Regions from separate parts of the Homo sapiens genome. Here all the other regions are linked to region 3. The links are contacts of gene promoters, found by promoter capture Hi-C in human tissues and cell types (Jung and others, 2019). All regions are on one chromosome and are shown on one strand. The core of a region is centred on a gene start or on the middle of the fragment in contact, and the rest is flanking DNA. Distances in the headings are between cores, read along the strand shown.

The links. The method cuts DNA at HindIII sites, captures the fragments that hold promoters and counts their contacts. A contact is called where the count stands out against the background at its distance.
Region 1: the fragment with the promoter of PPP1R26 here is called in contact with the fragment with the promoter of UBAC1 in region 3 in 1 of the 25 tissues and cell types used here (H1 embryonic stem cells).
Region 2: a contact is called between a fragment that was not itself captured here and the fragment with the promoter of UBAC1 in region 3, in 1 of the 25 tissues and cell types used here (hippocampus).
Region 4: the fragment with the promoter of SNAPC4 here is called in contact with the fragment with the promoter of UBAC1 in region 3 in 2 of the 25 tissues and cell types used here (dorsolateral prefrontal cortex and lymphoblastoid cells).
Region 5: a contact is called between the fragment with the promoter of MRPS2 here and the fragment with the promoter of UBAC1 in region 3, in 1 of the 25 tissues and cell types used here (dorsolateral prefrontal cortex).

What each region holds. Positions count from the first base shown.
Region 1 is chr9:135,478,418-135,481,216 of GRCh38, reverse strand. It overlaps PPP1R26 (protein phosphatase 1 regulatory subunit 26), which reads right to left and starts at 1,435. Exons shown (of 4, transcript NM_014811.5): 1 at 1,195-1,435. RefSeq lists silencers at 794-843, 854-913. The HindIII fragment of the contact is 17,940 bases long and covers 1-2,799 here.
Region 2 is chr9:136,417,736-136,420,435 of GRCh38, reverse strand. PMPCA (peptidase, mitochondrial processing subunit alpha) reads right to left here. Exons shown (of 13, transcript NM_015160.3): 8 at 2,327-2,419; 9 at 1,763-1,881; 10 at 1,518-1,608; 11 at 1,330-1,392. Among named protein-coding and RNA genes, the nearest start is that of PMPCA, 8.4 kb to the right of the region's middle. The HindIII fragment of the contact is 6,608 bases long and covers 1-2,700 here.
Region 3 is chr9:135,959,949-135,962,710 of GRCh38, reverse strand. It overlaps UBAC1 (UBA domain containing 1), which reads left to right and starts at 1,338. Exons shown (of 10, transcript NM_016172.3): 1 at 1,338-1,686. The coding sequence starts at 1,549. RefSeq lists silencers at 1,189-1,598, 1,609-1,728 and an enhancer at 1,218-1,718. The HindIII fragment of the contact is 18,279 bases long and covers 1-2,762 here.
Region 4 is chr9:136,398,773-136,401,472 of GRCh38, reverse strand. It overlaps SNAPC4 (small nuclear RNA activating complex polypeptide 4), which reads left to right and starts at 1,303. Exons shown (of 24, transcript NM_003086.4): 1 at 1,303-1,339. RefSeq lists silencers at 856-905, 1,056-1,265, 1,336-1,465, 1,536-1,645 and an enhancer at 154-1,090. The HindIII fragment of the contact is 18,374 bases long and covers 1-2,700 here.
Region 5 is chr9:135,499,316-135,502,163 of GRCh38, reverse strand. It overlaps MRPS2 (mitochondrial ribosomal protein S2), which reads right to left and starts at 1,482. Exons shown (of 4, transcript NM_016034.5): 1 at 1,411-1,482; 2 at 1,041-1,166; 3 at 191-320. The coding sequence starts at 1,453. PIERCE1 (piercer of microtubule wall 1) reads left to right here and starts at 2,295. Exons shown (of 3, transcript NM_001048265.2): 1 at 2,295-2,455. The coding sequence starts at 2,313. RefSeq lists an enhancer at 633-1,257 and silencers at 1,213-1,372, 1,583-1,752, 2,023-2,192. The HindIII fragment of the contact is 18,925 bases long and covers 1-2,848 here.

The sequences.
Region 1 (2,799 bases), core at 186-2,685, 480 kb after region 3:
GTCCTTAGAGATAGGTGTGGGCCCAAGCCAGAGGTGCAGGCTTTGTCAAATTGCTGCCTCAGGATACGGTCTTGAGGGTGGCTGTGGGGACACCCAGCACCTGCACCCCAAGGCCACACGGTGTCAGATTTTAGGAAGCGGTGGAGAACACTCGGGTACCTTCTCGGTCCAGACATCAACCTTCTGGAGAGAACCAAAGCACCCACACTGGGCCCTCGCCATCCTAACAGTCTGCCCACCTGTGAGAAACGCCCCCAAATACTCTACATTTCTCGGTTGGCCGAAAAGCAGCTCAGCCAGCGGTCTTACCTCCCAGGTGGGGTTTCCCCCCAGGGTAGGGAGGCCAGGGTCTGCAGGCCAGGGAGAGGAGCCCCGGTGCAGGAGCGGGCGGGGCAGCAGGAGGACCCGCTCCAGCCACCCAGAAGTGGGCGTGGGCTAGAATTCAGCTCCCAGCCTTCCAGAAGCTGCAATTTTACAACCTCACTACAAGCGTCCCCCAGCAAAGCTGCACCGCCATTTCCTGTGCTTGGGAACTGAAGGCAAGGTGAGCCCCTCCCGGCTGCCCCGGCCCGACCTCCCCTGACTCCCAAGCTTGGGCTACTCACGGCCTGCGGGCTGGGCAGGGTCCCCCAAGGGAGCTCCCCTCCCCGAGGGCGCGCTCACCCTAGCCGCTGGGATCGGCGACCTGGTCCTCGGCCCGGCGGGAGTGAACGCCTCCCAGGGAAGAGGCCGGGCCTCCAAGCAGGTCTGCACCCCCGGAGTTATGTTTCTGGGATCCGAGGACTAGCGAGCTTGGGGCCCGGGAGAGCGGCCACCCTCCCGGAAGCTCCGCCTGGCGCAGGGCGTGAACCGCAGTCTCCAGGCCGGCCGGGCCGCGGCCATTCTCGGAGGGCAGCGGCCGCCCCGGGCCGGGCCAAAGCTCCCCACCGCGGGCCCTCACCTGCGCCTCACCTGGGGCTCCAGGAGCGCGGGGCGCGCGGGCCGAGAGTCGCACGGAGGCCAGAGACAGGATCCCCGCCCGGGGAACGGAGCAGCCCCGGCGCCGATCCCCGTCCGCCTGCCTCGGGGAGCCCCCGCCGCCCGCCCGCCGCGGCCTGCACGGCGCGCCGGCCCCGGCCTGGCTGGCCCTCCTGTCCCCGACCCCCCAGCTTCCCAGCCCCCGAGCCCCCCGGCCCCGGCCCTGCACCCGCTCACCTCCGCCCGTCCCCCGCCGCCCGCCGCGCGGACCCCGCCTGCGCCCGCGTCCCACGTCCCGGGGGAGGCGGCGGGCCGGGGGCGGGCCGGAGGCTGCAGGGCCAGCGCGCTCCGCCCTCGGCCGGGGCGCGGGGAGGGGGCGCAGGGGCGTCCGGCCGGGCCCCCCGCCTCCCCGCCTCCCCGCGCGCCGCCGCTGCCGCCGCCCCGCGCCCGGGCCGCGCCGTGGGAAGCGCGGGAGGGGAGGGGCGGGGCGGGGGGCGGGGCGACCCCCCCAAGCCGCCCCCTCCCCGCGACCTACCGGACGGTGGCGGCGGCGGCCGCACTCCGGAAGCCGTGCCCGTGGCTGGGCATCATGGGAATGGCACGGCCGAGTTCCGGGGGAGGCGCGCGGCCCGGCCGGACCCCCGCCCGCGAGAGCGCGCCCACCTGCCGCCGCGCCCGCGCCCCGGGGACGCCCCCGCCCCGCCCCGCCCGGTTCGGACGCGGCCCCCTCCGCGGGGTGCGGGGCGAAGGCGCTTGGGCCGGGCCGAGCCCCGTGCTGCCCGCCTCCCGTACCGCGGCCACCTCCGGGGGGCGCGCAGGGGGCGCGGGGTCGCCGGGAAGTTCTGGGCGCGGGGGGCGTGGCCGTGGGAAAGCGCTCGGAGCCGCGGGAAGGGAGCGTGCGGGGCCCCGGCGCCAACCGAGTTCCTCCCCGAAGTTCACGCGGGGCTCCGGGCTGAGACCGGCCCGCCCGCCCCTCCAGCCCCACAGCCTTGGGCCGGGGTCGGGGGCGGCCCCCGCGTGTCCCCGCGGCTGCCCCACCCGAGCTTGCGGCGGGGAGTGGACGCACGACCTGCCCGGGGCGGCGGCTCCTCGAGCACACCTGCCGCCAGGTTCGGGGGAGGGAACAGTTTCTAGGAACTGCCCCGGACCTTGAGGCCGCTGCTGTTTCTGCTTCTGCTGTGCACTGACCATGTGACCTTGAAAGTCTTCCCAGTTTTGTTTTATAAAAGGTCCAGGGTGTGTGCCCGAGGCTGGCGGTGGCCCGGGTGTGCTCAGCATCCCCGGGCGGCGGGGAACGGGCAGACCCGACTGGATCCTCCCTCAGCGCCCACTCGTGGAAGGGGCAGATGGTGCGCAGGGGCACCGCGCTGCTTCTGTAAGCCCCCTGGGCCCTGATCCACACGTGTCTGGGAGATGAATTTGTGGGTTCGGTTCCTGTCTAGAAAGTGTCAGAGATTTGATAGGATCAAAATCAGAGACTTGCCTTGGAGGGGTGCTTCTAGTCATGCCAGCCTGGGAAGCTGGAGGGCCAGTTTTGGGTCAGGAAACCCATTAAAGAATTGTTTTAATGCCTTCGTGAATTTTTTCAAAAAGCAATTTTTTTTTTCTCATGAAATAATACTCTTTCATTACCAAACTTTGGGGAGATGATCTAATTAATAAGGTGACTTCCCAGAGACATGGGCTGTTAAGGTTTTGGCATGCTGCTTCACAGTTTTTAAAACAGTGCTGTGGTGAACAGCTTTCATGATGCCTCCTTAGAGCGGCTCTGAGCATTTCCTGCGGGCAAATCCCTAGAAGAGGCCGGCGGGCCAAAGACTATGCTGCATTTTGCCAAAATGC
Region 2 (2,700 bases), core at 176-2,675, 460 kb before region 3:
GCACTTTGGGAGGCCGAGATGGGCAGATGACTTGAGGTCAGGAGTTCAAGACCAGCCTGGCCAACATGGTGAAACCCCATCTCTACTAAAAATACAAAAAATTAGCCAGGTGTGGTGGTGGGTGCCTGTAATCCCAGCTACTCAGGAGGCTGAGGTAGGAGAATCACCTGAACCCGGGAGGCGGAGGTTGCAATGAGTTGAGATCATGCCACCGCACTCCAGCCTGGGCAACAGAGCAGGACTCCGTCTCAAAAAAAAAAAAAAAAAACAGAAAACAAAAAACAAAAAAATTAGCTAGGGTGGTGACACATGCCTGTAATCCCAGCTACTCAGGAGGCTAAGGTAGGAGAATCACCTGAACCCGGGAGGTGGAAGGATGCAGTGAGCTGAGATCATGCCACTGCACTCCAGCCTGAGCAAGACTCTGTCTAAAAAAAAAAAAAAGTGTGTGTATAAAACTTGCTTATTTGTACCACTTCTGGTCCAGGAAGTAACGAGGTTCCCAAATGTGTAAAGCATCAAAAACTAAGCTTAAAAAATTAGTAAACAGGGACGCATGGTGGCTCACACCTGTAATTGTAATCCCAGCACCTTGGGAGGCCAAGGCAACGGATCACTTGAGGTCAGGAGTTTAAGACCACCCTGGCCAACATGGCGAAACCCCGTCTCTACTAAAAATACAAAAATTAGCCAGGCATGGTGGCGCATGCCTGTAATCCCAGCTACTTGGGAGGCTGAAGCAGGAGAATCGCTTGAACCCGGGAGGTGGAGGTTGCAGTGAGCCGAATTTGAGCTACTGCACTCCAGCCTGGGTGAGACAGTGAGACTCCATCTTAAAAAGAACAAAAAAAAATTGGTAAACAAATACAGTTTCAAACATAGAATGGAGCCAGGGAAAGGCTCGAGACACCCCACGCTGCAGCCCACCTGTGCGAGCTGCTTCACCCCAGTCACCTCACAGAGGCGGCTGAGAAGGACACAAAAACTCCTGCAGCGTTTCGCCAGCAAAGCTGAGAGAGTCACATGGTCAGTCCCACGACTCACCCAGTGGCTCAGAGAAAGAAGTAGTGGACCGAGCACTGGGGGAGGGCGGTGGTCTGTTTTTCTGTTTTCGGGGTTTGGACCAGGGAAGAACAGCCTCAGCGGGCTCCCAGGTGGAGCAGCTCAGCCCCAGGCTGTGCCTCCTTGGCCGCCCTGCCCTGCCCTGCCCTGCCGGGACCTTGGCCCTGAGGCTCAGGGACCAGGCCCACAGGTGGCCACTCCTACAACGTGGCTGTCTCCTGTCAGACACCACAGGTACGCCTGGAAATGGCGCCACACTGCACTTACCGTGTCCACGGTTCCGCCCATTAAAATAAACTCCTTTGTGATGATTTCTACCATTTCTCGAACCTGCGAAGAAGGGCAAGACGATAACAGTGTGGCCTGCGCCTGCCGGCCTACTGACCCGTCTAGGCAGGGACGCCCAGGTCTGGACAGGCAACCGCACTGAGGACGGTGGCAGGCGGGGCCCTCACCTGTCTTGGGTCGGCGCTGGCATGGATGCAAAGGAGGCCAGTGTCCTCGTAGCTGTGGTGGTAGGAGGTCGCGTTATACATCCAGTGGTGCCTGGGAGGAAGCGAGAGTCATGGGAGTGAAGGGGACTCGCCAGGATCAGGCCATGGGAAACTGGAGAAAAGTCACCTGGAAGGTGGCCTCATGGTCCAAAAACACACCTGGCCTGGCCTGGTGGCCTGAGGATACAGAAAAGAGTGCAACCCACCTGTTGAGCACGTTGAGGTAGAGCCTGGAGAACATGCCCTTGCCGGGCCCACCAGCCGAGAAGGAGCCACCTCCGCCCATCATCATGTTCAACACTGCAAAGGGGATGAAGTCCTCCTCCTGCAGGGACGGAGGGCAGAGCTGGCTGAACCACCCACGCCACGTCAGGAGCACCGTCAGACGCCAGGGACGGAGGGCAGAGCTGGCTGAGTCGCCCAAGCCACGTCAGGAGCGCCGCTGGACGCCAGGGACGGAGGGCAGAGCTGGCTGAGCCACCCATGCCGCGTCAGGAGCGCCGTCGGATGCCAGGGACAAAGGGCAGAGCTAGCTGAGCCACCCACGCTGTGTCACGAGCGCCGTCAGACGCCAGGGACAGAGGGCAGAGCTGGCTGAGTCGCCCACACTGCATCAGGAGCATTGCTGGATGCCAGGGACAGAGGGCAGAGCTGGCTGAGCCGCCCACGCCCCATCAGGAGCGCTGTCGGATGCCAGGGACAGAGGGCAGGGCTGGCTGAGCCGGCCACACTGCATCAGGAACGCCATCAGACCCAGCACCAGGACTCACCAGGAAGGAGCAGCTCTCCAGTCCAACCATGATGTGCGTGAGCTCGGGGATGGGGGTCGGGCCCAGGCTGACATTGGACATGTCTCTTTCTAGCTGTAACCAAGAAAACAAGCAAGTGTCGCCATGTGAAAAACAATGAGGGCTCGCAAACCCCAGATGAGATCATCTTCAGAGTGGTTACACAGAAATCCAATGCCAGCCAGGCACAGTGGCTCATGCCTAAAATCCCAGCACTTTGGGAGGCCAAGGTGGGCAGATCACTTGAGTCCAGGAGTTCAAGACCAGCCTAGGCAATGTGGCAAAACTCCACCTCTACCAAAAAGACAAAAAAAAAAAAACATATGTATATACATATAAGCTGGGCGTGGTGGCTT
Region 3 (2,762 bases), core at 89-2,588:
ACCTGTGAGAGGCAATTAGTAAGTGCTGAACTGGACACATGGAATCTGGACGAGGTTGGAATTATCACAGGAGAAAAATGAGGATGTGTGTGCAAAATGGTGTGGACAGAATAAAAGCCTGCAGGCAGGAGGCAGAGACAGCCTCCCCGGTTAGATTGCTAACCTCTGAGAACGGGAACTGTGCCTTATTCATCTCTGCGCAGTAAAGTTTTTTTAAATGAATGGGATGAATGAGTACAGATCAGTCAATGTGTCAGGTCTAACCTGAACTACAAAATTCATATTTAGGAGCATGGTAAGTAAGACGTTATCCAGGACTGTTGAGCTAGGTACAGAGACCACTGCCAAGGGGGCTTGCAGTGGGGAGAGAGGTCAGGCTCAACTCCCAATACAGCAAGGGCAAGTGGGTGGGGTCAGTGAATGGAAAATTAATAGGAGAAAACATCAGGGATGTGGGCGGTTCTGGCTAAACCGACCTGACAGGGTTCTTGCTGAAGAGAGGCTGGAGATATCAGACAGCACCTGGGGGACGAGGAACCTGACCAGACGTCCAGGGTGATCTGATATTGAGGCTGGGAGTTCTTGCTAAACTCACTTATCAAGGCTCTTCGCTAAAACTGGATTTTACAAGGAAGTGTACAGATGATGTAGAAGGTTCAGGAGCCTGCTTAAGTTTGGCCAAGCAAAGACTCTTTGTCACACCCCACAGAAAATGAGTCTGCCTGGCATCACCTGCACCAAGGGCGGCTTCCCTCCCCTCTGGGTGCCCCGCAAACCTAGGCTTCGCAGGAACAGTGACTCTCTGATCTGCGTGTGAATTAGAAAGACCTAGGCTTGTTAAAGCCAAGTTCTTTGGAGAGCCTCCGTTCTACAGCAGTGCAGTGCAAAAGAAATATCACAGCAGCCATGTAGGCAATTTAAAATTCTATCTTAAAAAGGTTAAAAGAAACAGGTGAAATTAATTTTAATGACATATTTTTCTTAACTCAATAGATACAAAATATTATTTCAACATGTAATCAATATGAAAACATTATCGAGATGCCTTACATTCCTTTTTCCCGTTACTTCTTTGGGATCCAGCGTGTATTTTACCTTTAGAACCCATGAGGTCCCACGTGGTGAGTGCCCCGGGTGGGAACCGCCTGCAGCTCGGGGAGGAACGAAGCTACCAGAGAACTACAGCTCCCGGCATGCTCCGGGCGCGCCCCGTGACGCACTTCCTTTGCGGTGGCCACAGCGCGCCCCCGGCGGCGGGAGCGAGGCGCCTGTCCGAGAACCACATCTCCCGGCATGCGCCAGACGCGCCCGTGACGCACTTCCGGTGCGGCCGCGACGGCGCGCCCCCGGCGGCTGCTGCGGCGGCGGGAGCGAGGCGACCGCTGAGGCCGCGGAGAGTGACGGCGGCCCGGCCGACGGGAGCCGGGGCGGGGCGGCGGCCCAGCGAAGGAGCGCGCGGGCGGTCTGGCCCCGCCCCCTCCCCGCCCGCCTTCCCGGTGACCTTCAGGGGCCCGGGTGGCGGGCGCAGGCCCCTGCGGCGGCGGCGGGATGTTCGTGCAGGAGGAGAAGATCTTCGCGGGCAAGGTGCTGCGGCTGCACATCTGCGCGTCCGACGGCGCCGAGTGGCTGGAGGAGGCCACCGAGGACACCTCGGTGGAGAAGCTCAAGGAGCGCTGCCTCAAGCACGTAAGGCCGGGCCCCCTCCCCTGCCCCCAACACCCGCTCCGGACCCCTCCGACTGCGGACCCCGCCTCAGTCCCCGAACCGCCCCGACCTGGGGTCCGCCGCCCAGTCCGCAGCTCCCAGGCCCTCTCCTCCGGGGGTGGAGGCAGCGCCTCCTGCCCGTTTGCCCGACTCTCCCCCTTTCGGATCCCACACCTCTGGACGCTCGTCCCGGGCCTGGCCTTTCGGCCGGCGGACTCCGGTCACTAAGCGCTCGCCCCGTGCCAGCCGCCCGGCCGAGCCCTGTACACGCCAGCCTCTCAGTTAACTCTGCAGCCACGCAGGGAGGTAGGGGCAGATCGGGAAACTGAGGCCTGGAGAGTGAAGTCGCCGACGGAGCAGGGCCTCGGGACTTTCCGGCAGTTGTACCTTTTTGCTGTTGGGGTGAGGTTTTTTTTCAGCAGCATCTTTGAGAGCTGAGAATTAACGTAGGCTCCTTCATGAAGAGGCCCCTTCTCCTTCCTCTTCCCCTTTCCCGCAGAGCCGGCTGCTTGGAGCTCTTTTCCTGGCTGGCCCCAGGCCACTGTGCCTTTTAGCTGGAGTCCCTGAAATAGTGCCGCTGCGGGACAAGGCCCTGCGCCCCTGCTTTTCTGCAGAGGTAAAATTGGTCAAGAGAGAAGTCCCAGGAGTAGGGTCTCCTCGCGGAGACACTTTTTAAAGTTTATTCACCTGAAATACTCCTGTGTATTTAGTTCCTTAGGTTGCTGATTTTTGGAACTAGTTCTCGAGTCTCTAAAGGACTCAGTAAGGTCAGCTAAGAAGCCTGTCTGTGTGTCAGACTGACCTCCTGTCTATACCTGACATGATCTGAGGGCTTGGCAGAATTTAGGTTGAAGGAGGCTGCAATTTTCTAGTGGCGACTCCATGTGATAAGTTACGACGTATCTGTGTTGACAGGTTGAGTGCGTTACACTTGAGCTGAGTGTGGTCTCTAAGGATAAACTTCAGTTCTTACCATAGTAGCTGCTCGCATACAGTACTTTCGAGTTGCTTTTGTGAGCATGGTTCTGTGGAGTTCTGGAACTGTCAGAGGCAAGCTT
Region 4 (2,700 bases), core at 54-2,553, 440 kb before region 3:
TGTGGTTGGGAAGTGCCGGAATGAGGTTCTGAGTGTATAGGCAGCTCTGGGAGCCCTGTAGCAGCAGGATGGGGGCATCTGGGGAGGATGCCTCAGGCCACAGGCCTTCCCTGAGGCCCTTTGGGAGAGACAGCATTTGATGGGGTGGGGGTCACAAAGGCCAGATCGCCAGGCGGGTCCCATCCACCAGATGCGTGTGAAGTGGGGTGGTCCCCTGGCCCTCATGCCAGCAGCTCATGGAGCAGGTGGGGCCCAGGGAAGCGCGGTGGGGATGGGCATGTGGGTTTTGCGCACCCCTCTCTTTTGATGTCTGTGTTTGAAGCGTTTGATAGTAAGAAGTTTAAAAATACAATTTGTGGCGCGGTATTTAGTGCCTGCCTTCTGCCTCCAGATTTCAAGCCCGATGCAGGGACTGAAACGAGGCGCTCGAGGAGCCCCCAGCCGCCTGGTTCCATCCCCTCCATCTGTTTCTTGCCAATCCCTAGCTCCCAGTTTGGCCTCACCTGGGCCTAGCCCTTTGCCACCAAAAGCCCACCTCCTAGGTAGGCAGGGCAAACCCTCTTTATAGTTCTCCAGCTGATGCCCCTAGCTCACCCCAGGCTGGAGTGGAGGCCCCCTCAACTGGCTGGGCCCAGGATGTCTTTGCAGCACCGATACTTAGAAGCTCTCAGGAGCCAGGAACTGTAGGCCCCTGCCCAGCTCCCGGCCGAGTTAGCCCTGGCACGTTCCTGAAGGAATGAATGCCCACTTAGGGGAGGGCCCCGGGGCAGCTCTCCAGGCCAGGAGACCCCAGAGGGTGTGCACAGGTGACCAGGGAAGCGAGTTTGTGTGGTGCGGGCCCCCACCCTCTGGCCTCAGTCTCCTGCACGTGCCTGGAGATCGGCCTGGCCTCGGCGATCCTGAGCATGCAGGGCAGGCTGGGGAAAAAGCCTTTCACGTAGACTTTCTCATCCGTTGCTTAACCAAACCCCAACATGTCCGTTAACAGAGGATGAAACAAGCACAGAGAGGTCCAGCGATGGCCGAAGGTCACAGCCAGTAAGGGCCGGTCTTCCGGATCGTGACCAGGTGGCCGGGTGCCTGTCCCTGTCTGTCCCCTGCCTTGAGGTCCCGCGTCCACCCGCGCCCCTCCAGAGCGCGCGGAGGCGGCCCCCAGGGCGGCCGCGCGAGGGCAGCATCGAGCCGTTCGCCTCTCTAGTCCCGGCAGGCCGCAGCGGCCGTCCCGGCGTGCCCCGCGCCTCAGGAGGCGGGACTTCCGGCGCGCGGCGCTCTTGTTCTGCAGCCGCCGGAAGCGTCGAGTCTGCAGTCGCCCGGGCGACGGCGGGGTCCGCGCGGCCAGGTAAGGTGTGCGCCCAGCAGGTGAGGCGCGGGTGGCGTCGGCAGCTTCAGGGCTCTCCCCGTGGAGGGGGCGCTGTCCCGAGGAGCGGATAGCCGAGGCCCGGGACGGGGGCGGGGCAGCGCCCAAAGTCGGGGAAACTGAGGCCCGGCGTGGCCCCCGTCCGGCCGAGCCTGGGCGCGCGGGGATTCTGGCCCTGGGAGCCCCTCGGCTGGGAGCGGGCTGCGGGCTCCGAGGAGGCTCCGGCGGGGCGGCCCCGGCTGCAGGGCGCCCGCGTGCGTCTCGGGGACTGCGCCGGCGATTCCGCGGTGGCCGAGCCTCGGAGGGGGTTTCCCCAGTTCACGCAGCGAGCAGGAGGCGGAACTGGGCCTGGGCCGGGTCTGTCTCCCAAGCCAGTGCCTAAACGCCCATCGTCCTGGCGCATCCTGGGGTTCCCTGGGCCCAGCCGAGTCTGGGTGGCGTCCCCGCAGCTGGGGCTGGAGGGACCGCCTGCTGCGCTCCGTCTTGGTGGGCAGCCCTCATGACCAGCCCTTGGGAGAGGGGTGCGGGGAGAGGGACAGCCCCTGATGTCAGTGGCTCAGCACGTGTGACTTTGACCTCCTTCCTGCTGATCATTGCTCACCTGAGCGACACGGGGAGGGGGAGGCAGCAGCCTCGTGTGAGGCTTCCAGAGGAAAGCGTCTCCGCCGGCCCGGAGGCGCTGAACCAGCCTGCGGTCGCTGCCAGCTCTGCCTCTGGCCGGCTGTTAACTGAGTTTACAGGTTCACAAGCATTTCGGGCATAAACAAGGGGCTTTGTGAAGGAGTGAGGGGACCTGGGCTGCTGATGCGGCTAACGGTGCTCGCGGGTGGATGCTTTGGTTTTGTTCCAGTTGGGCAGGGCCCCAGTCAGCCTCCAGCAGGGAGAGCCACGCCAAGGACGGGGGAGGGCGTTTCTCTTTGTTGTTGGGTGTTTTGGGCTCCCGGGTCTGTGCTAGTGATTCCTTTAGATTTTCTCTGCTAATGTTTCATTCTCCCACTCTCTCTCTAGCGTCCTTCTCCCTTCAGACTTCCTGGACCACAGTTCCTAAGAAAAAAGCTTGACAAACATTTGTTAGTGTCAGGCACTGCCACGTTCCAGGCGTTGTTCTGGATGTACAGAGAACAGCCAGCCTTCCCTTTGGGAGCTTCCTTCCCAACCATGCTGTTAGTGCCTGCCACCTGGGCAGTCTCAGTGTGTGTCTCTGTGAACGTTTCTCAAATGCCCTCTGTGGTCCGGCTCTGTGTCATGGGAGAGCAGGATGGCCAAAGTGGGTCACGGGCTGTGTCCTTGCCCTGTAGTGACTTTGCCACTGCACCCCACACCTTCTACGCTGGGTGGCCAGT
Region 5 (2,848 bases), core at 233-2,732, 460 kb after region 3:
ACAAGAGCGTCCGCCAAGCTGAGGAATAAACTCCTGCTTCTCTGTGGGGCTCTGTATTCCCATGTGGAGGAGGATGGGGCTGTAATCACCTAAAACTGACATAGGCCAGTTCAAAAGTGGCCCTAGAACCAGAGCAGGTCCCAGGTTCCTCCTGGGAACCGCCCCGGGCTCAGATGGGGGTGTCACCTACCTGTGCCGACAGCCAGCTTTGTGTCCCAGATGGACTCGGGCATCGAAGAGGCTTCTCACGGAAAACAGTTCCTTGACATTGAAGAAGTCAGAGTGCTTGAGGGGCTCATTCAAAATCTTGTCGTTGAAATCTACGGCAGGGAGGAGGAGCGACGCTGCGTCTCCCACCGGTGGCAGCAGAGACAGGCAGAGCGCAGTTCCCGCCCACCCCTGCTCCCAAGTGCCTTCTGTGACACCGAGGTGGGGAGCCGGGAGCCCAGCAGCCCCAGGAAAGACCTGGAAGCACAGGGACCTTTTCAGGAAACAGAGGGCTGGAGCCAGGTTCTGATCCCGACCTTGCTCCTGGGTAAGCCTGGTCGAACCTGGTCAACCCCGTCCCTTGGTCTTACTTGGAAGACAGAGGAGAAAAAGAGAGGGGCCCAGCGGGTTGCTCAGGTCTTTCTGGCACCTCCCCGCCTTGTGGTCTCAGGTGGCCAGCCAGAAAGTCCCCATCAGGAGTCCAGCAAGGTGGGCAGACTCCAAGCCCAGTGCCCCCAGGTCACTTGGGCCCGCCTGGGCGAGCTCGGGGCTCCGGGCCTCGGTGGTCCAGTGACACCCCCCTAGGGAGCGAAGCCTGTGCTAACCACTGGCCCGCCCGCTCCCTCTCACCCTATCCATGGTGAGGCGGTGGCCTCAGCCCGCTGTGCTACGTCAGGCAGGACCGAGCGGCGGCGAGCACGGGAGTGGGAGGAGCCCAGCGGAGCGCGCAGTTTCGACCGCGTGCAGCGCCCAGGCCCCTCTAGGGTTCGCATCCCCCGCGGCTGCCGGCCTCTCCTCGTTCCCACCCAACTCGGCTGGGCGCCCAGTGTTACCGGTGCTGTCCTCCGACTCGCGGATCATAAGGGCCGTCGCGCTTCCAAGCGTCCTGCGGCTCGGCCGAGCAGGCCGGGGGGTCGCCTTCCCGAGAAAGCCCAACCAGCGCGACGGGGCCCGGGCACCTGGGGGGAAGTAGATAGAGGTCCTGGCGCCGAGTCCCGAATGCACCACGCCCGCTCCCCACCGCATCCCCAACGGGCCCCTCCGCGTCCCTAACGGGTCCCCTCCGCGTCCCCGCGCCCTCCCCGAGTCCCCTCCGCGCTCGCCCCGGGTCCCCTCCACGTCCCCGCCGCTCCATCGGGTCCCCGCGCCCCTCCGCATCCTCCTCGCATGCTCCTCCCCAGGGTCCCGCAAGCGCGCGCTCACCCGCGCCGAGTATTCGGGGCAGCGCGGCCGAGGATGTCGCCATGGCTGGGACGCGGGGCAGAGCGAGGTCTCCCTCCAGGCCAGGCCGAGCGGCCTCCCCTTCCGTCGCCATCCGCGCGGGGCCGCAGTGCCGCCTACAGGCCCGGAGGAGCCACAGCGCTGTCCCCAGGCGGCTGGGACCTCCCTGCGGGGGCGGGGCACGCGAGGGGTCAGGGCCCGGGGTCCTGGGCTTGAGAGTCTCGGGCGGGGAGTGGAGCCACGGTCCTCGCCCTGCAGCTCGCCCCGCCCTGCTAATGGGACCGGCCAGCCCGGGAGGCCCCTGACCCTTGGGGAAGCCCGCTGGGCGATGGGGACCCTCGCCTCCCGCCAAGTGAGCTGTGAACCACGTCCTGCGCAACCTCTCGCTCTCCAAAACTGTTTGTAATATTTAAACGATATTTGGCTTAGGAGAATTTCATAAAGTTAGCCAGATCTCGGGTCTCAATTTAGACTCGGGGTGCTGGGGGGCATAGCATCCCTGGAGTACATTGGACAGCAAAAGTCCAATCGTTGCCTGCCGAGTGGACCTGCAGTGCTTAAACCCCGTCACCCGGCTGGCGGGGTCCCAGGCCCTGGGGTTTCTTTCGCCCGGGAGTCCACGCCCTGATGCTGGGGTGGCCCGGTCCCCCCGCGGGTGGCTGGGGGCCTGGGGCTGCCTCACACGACGGTCCCAGCAGGGAATCTCTCGCCGTCCCGACCTTCCCGGCCCTTGGGGAGTCGCCCGGCAGGTTCCGGACCCACCCGCAGAGGAACCCGGCCCACGCGCGGCGCCTTTAAGGCCCCTCCGCTCGCTCCCCAGTCACGTGACCTGGCCGTCGCTTGGCAACAGGACGCCGCCGAGTCCCGCTTCTCCTCCAGGCACAATGGCTGAGGAATGCCCCAGAGCGTGCGCGGAGCCTGTGGCGCCCAAGGCCACGGCCCCGCCGGAGAGGACCAGCGACTACTACCGCGTGAGCGCGGACCTGCCGGGCAGGTTCAACAACCCGGGGTGGTTCCGGGGCTACAGGTGAGGAAGCTGGGGCCCGCCTGGTCCTGGCGTCCACTGCTCGATAGCCCCGTGTGTGAGAGACCCCGCAAGACCCCCAAGGTCCTAGCTACAGAAATCAAGAAGATCGAGTGGTCATCCGGGGCCCGCGCTGTCATCGCCCGCCAGTGAGCGGCGACCGTGCTCCCTAGAGCCTCATACAAGGAAGTGGGGATAAGGGCAGTGGGGGGCAGGGCCGTGGGGGGAGAAAGCCCAGTTGTGGTCTCAGCTCCACTGATTTGTGTCGGGTGAGTCTCCTCTCCTCTCTACCCTGAAACTCCGCTGCGGGGCGTGAGCACAGCAGCACCTCCACTGTCTTGCTGTAGACTCAGCCAGCTCTGAGCTGCCACAGGGCATTGCAGGCTAAGAAGTAGT